Linked DNA regions of Homo sapiens: all the other regions are linked to region 1. Evidence: promoter capture Hi-C in human tissues and cell types (Jung and others, 2019). All regions are on one chromosome and are shown on one strand. Each heading gives the region's core, a stretch centred on a gene start or on the middle of the fragment in contact. The rest is flanking DNA. Distances are from core to core; before and after follow the strand shown. Region 1 holds the start of POU4F1 (POU class 4 homeobox 1). Region 2 overlaps EDNRB (endothelin receptor type B). Region 3 overlaps EDNRB-AS1 (EDNRB antisense RNA 1).

What was found. Contacts are between HindIII fragments. The study calls those that stand out against the background at their distance.
Region 2: a contact is called between a fragment that was not itself captured here and the fragment with the promoter of POU4F1 in region 1, in 1 of the 25 tissues and cell types used here (lymphoblastoid cells).
Region 3: a contact is called between a fragment that was not itself captured here and the fragment with the promoter of POU4F1 in region 1, in 1 of the 25 tissues and cell types used here (lymphoblastoid cells).

What each region holds. Positions count from the first base shown.
Region 1 is chr13:78,602,251-78,605,819 of GRCh38, reverse strand. POU4F1 (POU class 4 homeobox 1) reads left to right here and starts at 2,268. Exons shown (of 2, transcript NM_006237.4): 1 at 2,268-2,616; 2 at 3,269-3,569. The coding sequence starts at 2,494. OBI1-AS1 (OBI1 antisense RNA 1) reads right to left here. Exons shown (of 6, transcript NR_047001.1): 4 at 376-519. RefSeq lists a silencer at 2,318-2,477. The HindIII fragment of the contact is 11,230 bases long and covers 1-3,569 here.
Region 2 is chr13:77,907,420-77,910,856 of GRCh38, reverse strand. The region is part of intron 1 of EDNRB (endothelin receptor type B); the gene reads left to right. EDNRB-AS1 (EDNRB antisense RNA 1) reads right to left here. Exons shown (of 7, transcript NR_103853.1): 7 at 2,415-3,165. Among named protein-coding and RNA genes, the nearest start is that of EDNRB, 9.7 kb to the left of the region's middle. The HindIII fragment of the contact is 4,484 bases long and covers 1-3,437 here.
Region 3 is chr13:77,843,682-77,847,167 of GRCh38, reverse strand. The region is part of intron 6 of EDNRB-AS1 (EDNRB antisense RNA 1); the gene reads right to left. Among named protein-coding and RNA genes, the nearest start is that of EDNRB-AS1, 26 kb to the right of the region's middle. The HindIII fragment of the contact is 3,131 bases long and covers 654-3,486 here.

The DNA of each region.
Region 1 (3,569 bases), core at 1,019-3,518:
CAGGGAAGGAAATCTTGGTGGGACTAACTCCTAACTTCAGGCTAAGGTGGCATCTCTCCGCTGGGTTTAATGGAAGCCTCCCAGGGTTGGAGGGTGAACCGAGGTGCCTTTTGGGTACTCAGGAGCTCACCTGGCTCTCAGAGGCCCCACCCGGCCGCAAACCTGTACTGTTTACCTTTCTGTTGCTCCTGTACCCTTCAGGGTCCCTAAAGACCAGCGCTTCCTTGAGAGGGGAGGGGCAGGTTCCAGGCCCTCACCCTCTGTGGGGGCCTTTTCTTTCCCGTCAAGAGAGAGCGCAGGGAACGGCCACCAGGGGTGTCAGGAAGGACTAGGTTAAGCCCGGACTCCCGGTGTGATGACTACCGTAGGACTCACTCTTTCCCTCTAGCGACGTCCTGCTCATCGTCCACTCCCCGTTGAGATAAAGTTGCATTTAGCGCTCCCAGGGGACTGCGTAATGGATGGAACCAGCTCCTTCTCTCACCAGCAAGTGAACATCCTTCTCACTTCCCTCTGGAGCTAGAAGGAAGGGAGGGGGTGGGGGGGAACATGAAAAGAAAGAAAGAAAAAGCCATGGTGACGCCTGTGGGCTCTTCTTGGAATCTGAGTAGGTGAGTGGGTATGCTAAACACACATGCATTTGTGCAGAGGAAAGATAAAATCCACGGGAACGCAAATTTAGGTTTATAGAAATGAGATCTGCTCTTTGGTGGAAATACAGACTTCCTTGGTGTGGGAGAGAACAGAAAGATTATCTGATTTCTGCTTTCCATAAGCAGCCCCTTGCTGCTCTCCAGCTCTCTTACCGCAGATGTGATAACATCTGGGCTGTTAGGTTATTATCACCGCGAGCAAGTGCTCCTTCCCTGGGGACTTTGGCACCTGAACTGTGGCTCCCCTGGGAGGCTCTTGATCTGCTACCACATAAGGGCCATATAACAGGTTGGCTAATTGATTTATTCTTTTTAGGTCTTAATTTCACAATAATTTTTTAAAAATTTAAAAACTGGACCAGAGCTTGTCCCCGTTCTTTCAAATTGGCTTGATTTAATATTTTTGAATCAAGCTTTCCTGTAAGTTAGTTTGATCTGTCTCCTATTGAAAAAAATATATATAAGCAGGCAGAGATATGAGGCAAAAAGCCAAAAAGATGGAAGGGAAAAGAAAGTTCTCTTTTCAACATCTTATTCCCTTTTCTCTGAAGCAGTTTTCCTGGAGTTCCCAGCATAAAGTGTGTGTGTGTGTGTGTGTGTGTGTGTGTGTGTGTGTACGCTGAGGGGAGGAAGGATCCCAACTACACCCTGTTAACTGTTTTTTCCTTTTGATTACTAGAAGCCTTAGATCACCCGGAGCTCGTTTGAAACGTGGGTTTGTACACGGTTGAAGGAGACAAACAATAAGAGAAATGCACAATTTCATTTCAACAGCTTTTCCCGAGTAGAAAGCACACGCTCCTTGTGGCTCCTAAGTGGCTGTCACTGGCGGTGCCTGACACAGTTATATTCACAACAACAACAAAAAAGTATGCGGAGGAAATTAAATTATATGGAAATCAATAGCGTCTGACTGCTTCAAACAAATGTCTGTCACCGCGATTATTCTCCAGGAACCTATTTATAAACCTTTAAAGAAACAGGTTCTTGCAGCAAAAGACAGCACCTTCTGCATTTCTGTGTTGTTATTTATACTGTATACAGAGGAATGCGCGGGCATAATTTAACGTAGAAATGTCCAGCTGTATACATTATACAACAGCTTGTTAGGCATCCCGAAGAGGAGGAATGCCTAAGTAATGCTCATATATTCAAGGCTTGCTATCAGGGAGAAGAAACATACACACATACACACACACGCACGCACACACACACACACACACACACATAGAGGGGCGTGCGCGCATCTCGTCTTTTTTATTCTAAAAGGTGCCCACCCTTAGACAATAGCTGGACCTTCTGATCTTTCCAGACCACGGTGGGAAAGGTGAGGCGGGCAGTGCGCATGCCCGGGTAGCTACAGGTGCATCACCTGCGCTGTCCTTGCTGGTGGTCACTATAAGAGCGGCTCCCACGCGCTGGTCGCGGCCGGACGAGCGCGCGCGCGCGCAGACGCACGGGGCCGCCGAGAAGGAGAGCGCGCGTCAGACAGACGGAGACAGCTGATGCCTGTCAGCGCGGTGGGGCCGCGAGCTCTCGCGAGAGCTCCCCGGGACGGCCGCGAGAAGTGGGGCTCAGGTGTTAGAGGAGTGCATCCCGTCGGCGCGCGGGGCTAGAGCTGTCGGAGAAGCGGGACCGCGAGGCCGGCGCGCGGCGCTCTGCGCGGTCAGAGGGAGCGCCTGGCAGCAGCAGGAGCAGCAGCAGCAGCCCGCGGCGGGGCCGCCGCCAGCCGCCGCGACCGCCGCGGCTGCAGCCTCCGAAGGGAGGCCGGGTGAGCCGGCGTACGCACTTTCCCGCGGACTTTCGGAGTGTTTGTGGATATACATGCCAAGCCGCCACGATGATGTCCATGAACAGCAAGCAGCCTCACTTTGCCATGCATCCCACCCTCCCTGAGCACAAGTACCCGTCGCTGCACTCCAGCTCCGAGGCCATCCGGCGGGCCTGCCTGCCCACGCCGCCGGTAAGCGCCCCACGCCCGCGGCCCCGGCCCGCGCGCCCGCCCCTCCCCGTCTCCGAAACGCTGCATGTCGGGGGCTGGTGTGTGCAGGTCCCGGTGCGGGGAACTGCGGGCAGGGGGTGTAGAGCAGTCCCGCAGCGAGGCACGTTTTGTCCGGCGGCCCTTAATGTCGTGTTCCTGTCTGCCTCTGCCTCCGCGTCAGGCGCCTGCGATCGGAGTAGGGAGCGCTGGGGCCAGGACTCTCGACTTCCCTCTACTTTCTCTGTTAATTTCACGCCTCAGAAAGGCAGTCTCTGTGCGTGCTCGGGTGTGTGACACGGGTCCCCAGCTGCGAGTTACATTTCCATTTCTTCTTTTCCCTCTTTTTCGTCTCCCACGCCCGTTTCCGGAATGTGTTCTTGTGTCCCCCTTTCTCCCTACTTCTGTCCCCCTCTCCACGCTCCCATCCCTTCTCGTCTGCCCCCTCCCTGGTCGTCAATGTGCCCCCTCTCCGTCTTTCCCGCTCTCCACTGCCCCCAAACCCGTTGTTATTTTGGTTGCTTTGTGTTTGCCCTTCGCATGCTGTGCTTTCCGGCCTGTGTGTGTGTTTCTTCTGTTGTTTTGTTTTGCTCTTTTGGTTTTGTGGTTTTTTTGGTTTGGTTTGTGTCGCCTGCAGCTGCAGAGCAACCTCTTCGCCAGCCTGGACGAGACGCTGCTGGCGCGGGCCGAGGCGCTGGCGGCCGTGGACATCGCCGTGTCCCAGGGCAAGAGCCATCCTTTCAAGCCGGACGCCACGTACCACACGATGAACAGCGTGCCGTGCACGTCCACTTCCACGGTGCCTCTGGCGCACCACCACCACCACCACCACCACCACCAGGCGCTCGAACCCGGCGATCTGCTGGACCACATCTCCTCGCCGTCGCTCGCGCTCATGGCCGGCGCGGGCGGCGCGGGCGCGGCGGCCGGCGGCGGCG
Region 2 (3,437 bases), core at 346-2,845, 690 kb after region 1:
TCTATTTCAGCAAGTTAGAGGAATCTTTCCAGAGCTGTGAAAAGGCCTCTGTTTTGTGGATGTGTGTGAAATAGATTCCCATGGACAGAACCGCTGCCTTGCACAACTCTAGGGGGCACTGTACTTATTGTAATCTATTGAGATGGCACCCCTGGGGGATAAGCTAACATTATTTCTGACCCACATATTTCTAACTCACATAGGCTAATCTTTAAGTGATTAAGGGCATTCTGATGGATGCAGGGTAGAACTTGTAATTTATATTTGTCCTTCAGGGCACGGTGCACTGTATGTCAAGAAGAAAATATTTCCATGCACTTGATCAGCATATTGACTCCAAATTCAAAGCTTACTTTGAACTATTTCTTTGTGTATTAATACAGAAAGAGTTCTGGCATGGAAGTCCTTTAGTGAAGGTGCCCTATCTCATTAAAACTCTAGTTCAAACACAGAAAAACTCTTAACTACTACAGGAAACAGAGACAAAAACAGAATACACCCTTTCCTAAAGTTGTGAAATGCAGCCATTCCATTATTTTCCTTTTTTGACTCTTACTGTGAAAACATTTATATAATGCCAGTCGTTTAAAGAAACGTTCACAACTTATCACAGGATGGAATAGACTGCAGTCTGGCAAAGTAATCTTGGTTGTCCTCTTAATTACACCACTCACTCATCCTCTAAAACAATCATCTCTTACAATGCTCCTATGTTTACTGCATCTACTTCCACGAAACTTAACAATCCTCTCCACAGCTGAAGCTCTTCATAGACTCCCATTACATAGTGAGAAACAGTAGGTTCTGTTTTGTATCAGTCATTGCCTTGACAAGTTTGAGTAGGAGAGAGAGGGTGGGAGAGGAATTTTTGTCGTTACCTTTTCCGCCCTGCATGGAAGAGCAGAACTCCAACAAGAGTCCAGCCCACTCTCAAGCCTCAATTCTAGAGTTTCTGACTCTATGTGCCAAGAAGACCTGATCATCAGTACTAGAAAATATAAATAGTAAATATACAGTCATGTCAATTATCTAAAGAATATATGTAGAGTATGAGAACTGAAAAGCTCATGACAAATGTTTTGTCATAGATGATTTCTGCCGTGTGATCAAATTCATTCATCCACTCATCCGTTCATCGTTACTTAACAAACATTGAATGAGTGACCACTGTGTGCCAATCACTGTACTAGGCATTATAAATGTTGTAGAATATTCTGAAACAAATAAACAGTTAAAGCTCAATGTACATTTGTAATTTAATAAAGTAGAAAAAGAAAATGCTATCTATGTTTAATGAGGTGAGTGAACATTTGCTTGTACAAGATGGTTAACTTTGACATTTCCTGACTTTATGGGGCTTGACTCCTTTTGGCATTAACAGGGGTGTGTGTTAACAGGATTTTTTTTCTTCATTTATTATCTCAAGTATGTGATTTTTAATTAAAAAGAGAAATGAAACATGTAAATCCCCTGGTTAGAGAGATTTTGTAGGATTCACTTCACAAAACCCTCAAATAAGTAAAGAATATTTGTTTCTTATTCATGCTATTTATCCTTTTAGAAAAATTTTAAACTATAATATCAAAATGACTTTATAATGTAATAGAATAATTTATTTGGATTCTCTTGCCTTGTTTCTTTCTCAAGCAGCTGTTCCAAGGTAAAGTTATAAAATCACGGTCTTTCTTGAGTAGAAATCTTTTAGCCAGTATGGCCACACCTTTTTTCAATCTAGTGTTTATTTATTTGTGTTTATCATCCAAAAGAAATGTTCTAGAGAAGCAGTATAAGCCTTAGGGTAAAATGGGTCAGCACAAACATAGGCTATCATTTTGTCAAATGGATACCATATTGCCAGCAGGACTTAACACTAACAACAGCTATTCAGTTAGATGAGACATCATGATATGAAAACCAGTGCCAGTTATGTGAGTATTGCCAACTGGCTCATATTTGATCAATGTTAGGTAACATATATTCAACTGAATTTTAAACAGGATTTAAAATTTTAATTTATGTGGAAGCGACATAGTGTCAATATTAAACTCTAAACACCCTTTTTGCGATCAGAGAGACAGCCTTTTGATTACATGTTTGAATTGTCTTCACTGTTCAGACCTTGCCCTTAAGTTATCTAATTTAATGGGGTAAAGTCCAAAGAAAAAACTAAAAATAGGGAATAAGGAATGTGTTATTGCTGGGTTTAAAGTTAGAGTTGCTTCCTCTTGCAATAAAGTGAATCCATTTCCTCTTCAGTGGGGAAAGCTGTATCCTTAGACTTCAAATTATTGATGTTAGATGTTGTTATTTTTCCCAAAGAATGATGAAGAAATGAATGTCTAAGAATCATACCCATCTATAAGAACAATCTCTCACCAAATTTTAAAGATGGCATCTTGGTTGAGAGTGAATTTTTTTTTTTTTTTTTTTGGCAAAACTTCATAGTTTTTCCCCACCAGGGATACCTTTATATTTTAGGTAAGCTTCAAGCACTAGCTTGCCTAAAGACTTTCTTGCTAGAGGCCATTAAGATGACAGAGATGAGCATCAATAGTGGGCATGGTTTCTGTCACAGAGTATCAGGCTTTGCTGGGTCTCCACAAAGCCTTCTGATCAGTGAGGCAGAGGTTAAGATTTTTAAAGGAAGAGCGTTTAGAGTCTCGCCAAAGCCATCCTTCTCACTACAAAATAATGGAAGCAACAGTGCATGCTCTTCCCACATCTTCTATGGCCTTCCAGAGCCAATAGCATCCAGTTCTAAATTGAAAGCATGAAATGCTGAAAGCTGATAAAGGTTAATGCTCTCTCTCTCTTTTTTTTTTTTTTTTTTTTTTTGCAGTCTCTTTCCCTTCAAAAGTGTAGACTAGAAAACTGTAATCTCTCCGTGGTGATTACGTGTCTGACTATCTCTCTGTTGAGCTTGAAGAGCATTGTTATAATTTTCAGTTTGTGTTTCCCTGTTTTCTGTGATAGCTTGGGTCAGAGGTTGGGCTGCAGGCCTCCAGTGGTATGAAGAGCAATAATCCAATTTCTAGGCTGAGCCAAAAACAATGGAAACCTCAAAACATGGCCTGGATTCAGTGCAGAGCTCATTTTCATCAGCCAGACTTCTTTCCCTTCAATGGTCTGGACGCTCATTCATCTTGATTCTTCTGATAGCCATACCTACAGGATAACAATATTAACATATTTGGAAATAATTTAAGACAGAATAAAATATTTTAAAATATCCAAATGTTTGTACATTATTTGAATAAAATAACTAGGGGGATTAGTCAGGGTTCTCCAGAGAAACAGAACCAGTGGGATAGATAGATGGATGGATAGGTAGATAGGTAGTTAGTAGACAGACAGATAAATAGATAATGAGGAATTGGTTTATGAGATTATAGAGGCTAAGAAGTCCCATAATTGGCCATTTGCAAGCTGCAAATATA
Region 3 (3,486 bases), core at 970-3,469, 760 kb after region 1:
AAATTTTCCTGTATTCATAATAACATAGTGTTTTCAACACCTGATACTTTTAAGCCTATATGAAATTGCTGATCTTGAGCCATTTGTGATCTCAAAAGTGGTAATTTCACAATTCAATCCAAAATAACTTTATTAAATTAAAGTTCCTGAAACTAGAGCCCATAGTCAGATATGTGCTATTCTAGATTCTAAAGCTTTCCCATAAACAAATTCAGGCATTATCTCTCTGTTGGTAACAATTCATAAAGCCTTCAGGGTTTTAAACAATAACTGCAAATGATCAGTCTATTCGAATCTATTACCTTCACTATTGCTACCTGCGTGAACTGCTATTTTTCACGTATTGGCAAGTTTCTCTTTTCAGATATCTTCACTAGTATTTCTGAAGACATCTGCTTTGCCTTTCATCCTTTTTAACAGAAGCAGATGAGTAATTACCAACTAGATGGTAATAAAGACCATGGTAGTCCCTCTTATCCACAGAGGACACATTCCAAGACCCCAGTGGGTGACTGAAACGTTGGAGAGTACCAAACCCTATATAAATATACTATGTTTTTTTCCTATACATACATAAATACTTATGATAAAGTTTAATTTATAAACTAGGCACTGTAAGAGATTCACAACAGTAACATAATAAAATAGAACAGTTACATCAATACTCAGAATGGCACATAATTTAAAACTTATGAATTGTTTATTTTTAAAATTTCATCTAATATTTTCAGACTGCAGTTGACAATGGGTAACTAAAACCACAGAAAGTGAAACTGCAGATAAGGGGAAGCTACTGCACAACATGAAGAGTCTTCACTTCTGATGACTTTAGATGGCATATTTGATCACCATTGTTTCTTGAAAACATTGAATGTTACTTTCTTTATAGCATAGAGCTATACATTTATTCTCTTAGTTCTGGACTTGTTTTTGTGAACTTCTGGACCCACCGTAAGTAAACAAGCCTTCTATTTTGCTATGCTTCTCCACAGATATACAGAGAAGTATTGTCCTGTATTCTATTATTAATAAACAGTTCAATCTCCTTCCCTAAATAAACAAAAAAGAAGGTGAGTTTTTCTCTCAAATACCCTCACGTTTTTGGAACAAGCTTTTCAAACTTTTCATTTTATATTCCCGTGACACTGAAAAACCATCTGAGTATATACAAAATAAAAAGACCACCTTAAAAATATGCTAGCTTTTTTCTTCTAGTTGTAAATGTTCTGTTATTTGTTCACTCCAGGATTATGCAATATAAAGGAAGATTAAATATCATTGTCTAAACTGGACCAGCACCCTGTTAGCACCACTACTCACTGAGAGCTTAAGATGTAGACTCTGAAAGAAGGTCTAGTTTTAGATTGCCTCTCTGAGCAACTCTCAAATTCACCCTCTATTTGCCCTATGGAACAGCTGGTTTTATCTTGTGGAATTTTTCTCTGGCCTAGCCTACCTTTTCCTCCCTGCTGTTCTAAGATTGGAGGCTTTCTCTAAATCTGTGCTGTGCAATACCATAGCCACCAACCACCTGAAGCTACTGAGCACTCATAATGTGGTTGATCCCGGTTGATCCATGCTGTATGTGTACAATGTTCACGCCATTTCAAATATTAGTAGAAAAAATGTAAAATATTCCGTTCATAATTTATATAAGGATAACTTTTTGAAAATATTTGGGATAGGTTGGGTTAAATGAAATATATTATTAGAATAATTTAACCTTTTTTATCTTGTTTGTCTACTAGAAAGTTGTTCAAAATTACACATGTACTTTTGTATGATGTACTTTTTATTATATTTCTATTGAACAGCACTGCACTATACTGTCTGTTCATTTTCACGTCTCCCTCTCCCCTTGCTCTGCAGTGGTGGGGAGGTTCCTAATATGCCCTTGTCCAGTCCCTGCTCCCAACATCCCAGGCTGAGCCAGCCCTACTGCACTCATCCAGAAGAAAATTTTGGCAATATTTGTAAAAATATTAAGTGATTTTTTTATATTTAAGGAAAAAATACAGAACTTCTCAAAATAATTCTAGAGTTCATCTGAGGGGCAGGAATACCTAAGGATAATTTGTAAAAGAAGAGTAATGAAGAAGAACCTCTTAGAAATTCATAAGTTTTTGACAAGCTTAAAAATTATAATAAATGGAAATTATTTAGGGCAATGTCTGGTGCATAGTAAGCAAGCACTCAATATGTGATAGCTATTACTATTGTCACTTCTTATCAAAGTATATACAAATAAAACAATTAAAACCTTATAGAATGGGAAAGAAGGATACATTTGTAGATGGTTGGTATAGATCTATGAACAACCATTTTTACGTATATAAAATATTTAATATATTGTGTTTTAGATCTTATTATAGATCAATAGGTGAGAGAAGAGATTAATCAATAATTAGTTTTCAGAATGGCTAATTATTTTGGAGAAAATGAATCCCACATTGATGACAGATGAAATTTTTTAAATATTTATTTTAAGAAAGGTAAAATATAGGTGAATATCTGATATTTATCATAGAAGGATATTCTAAGCTTAATAGTAATTGGGGGGGAAAGGAAGACTAATATATTTAGTAGCATTAAAATATAAATCTTTGTTATATAAAAAAGTAACCAAAAGCTAAAGCAAACTATAAAACAAAGGGAAAAAAATAACACAAATATTATAAAAAGTTAATTGTATTTTAAAAACGTATATACATCAATAAGAAGTGCATTAGCAATCAAATGATAGAAAAATAGACACAAGATAAACATGAGAGGAAATTTTGAACTCTACTAGTACAAATGATCAAAATATTTTAAACTATTAATAATCAGTGCTAGAAATGGTGCAATGAAACAGTGTGTTTGGACAGTACAGATGGGATTCCAGGGGCTACAACCTTCCTAAAAACAATTTGGCAATATATATCAAAAGCTTTCCACCCGTTGATTTTAAGATTCTGTCTTAAAAAAATTATCTAAATTTACCTTACTAGCGGAAAAGTTAAATAAAGTTTTAATATAGCTATATGATGAAATATTACATGGTCATTAAAAGTAATGTGCATGAAGGGCACTTAAAACATAAAGATGGCTTATAATGTTATAATATAATAATATTAGAATAAAATAGCAGGCTCCACCTTGTCTTCTGTAACAATCATTAACATACCAAAATTTTTCTGTGTTATTTGACACATCACAAGTGAGAGAAGCCCAATTGAAATGGAACATGCTACCAAGAGAATTTCATGGAGGTGTCAAGTAGCCAAATGAAGGACAGAGTACAGCTTGGTCAAAGAAGTGGCTAGAACCAGAGACCAAATGGTATCAGAACATCCTGGCCCCACTCTCTGTAATTCTGAAGTCGTGTTCAGATTGACTTGTTTTACACTGCAGGGAATATGGTCATCTTGTGTCCTGGGGTCTAATAACTCACAGCTTTGCCTGCAGGAACTGACTCAAGTTAACATTCTAAGAAAAACAACTCAC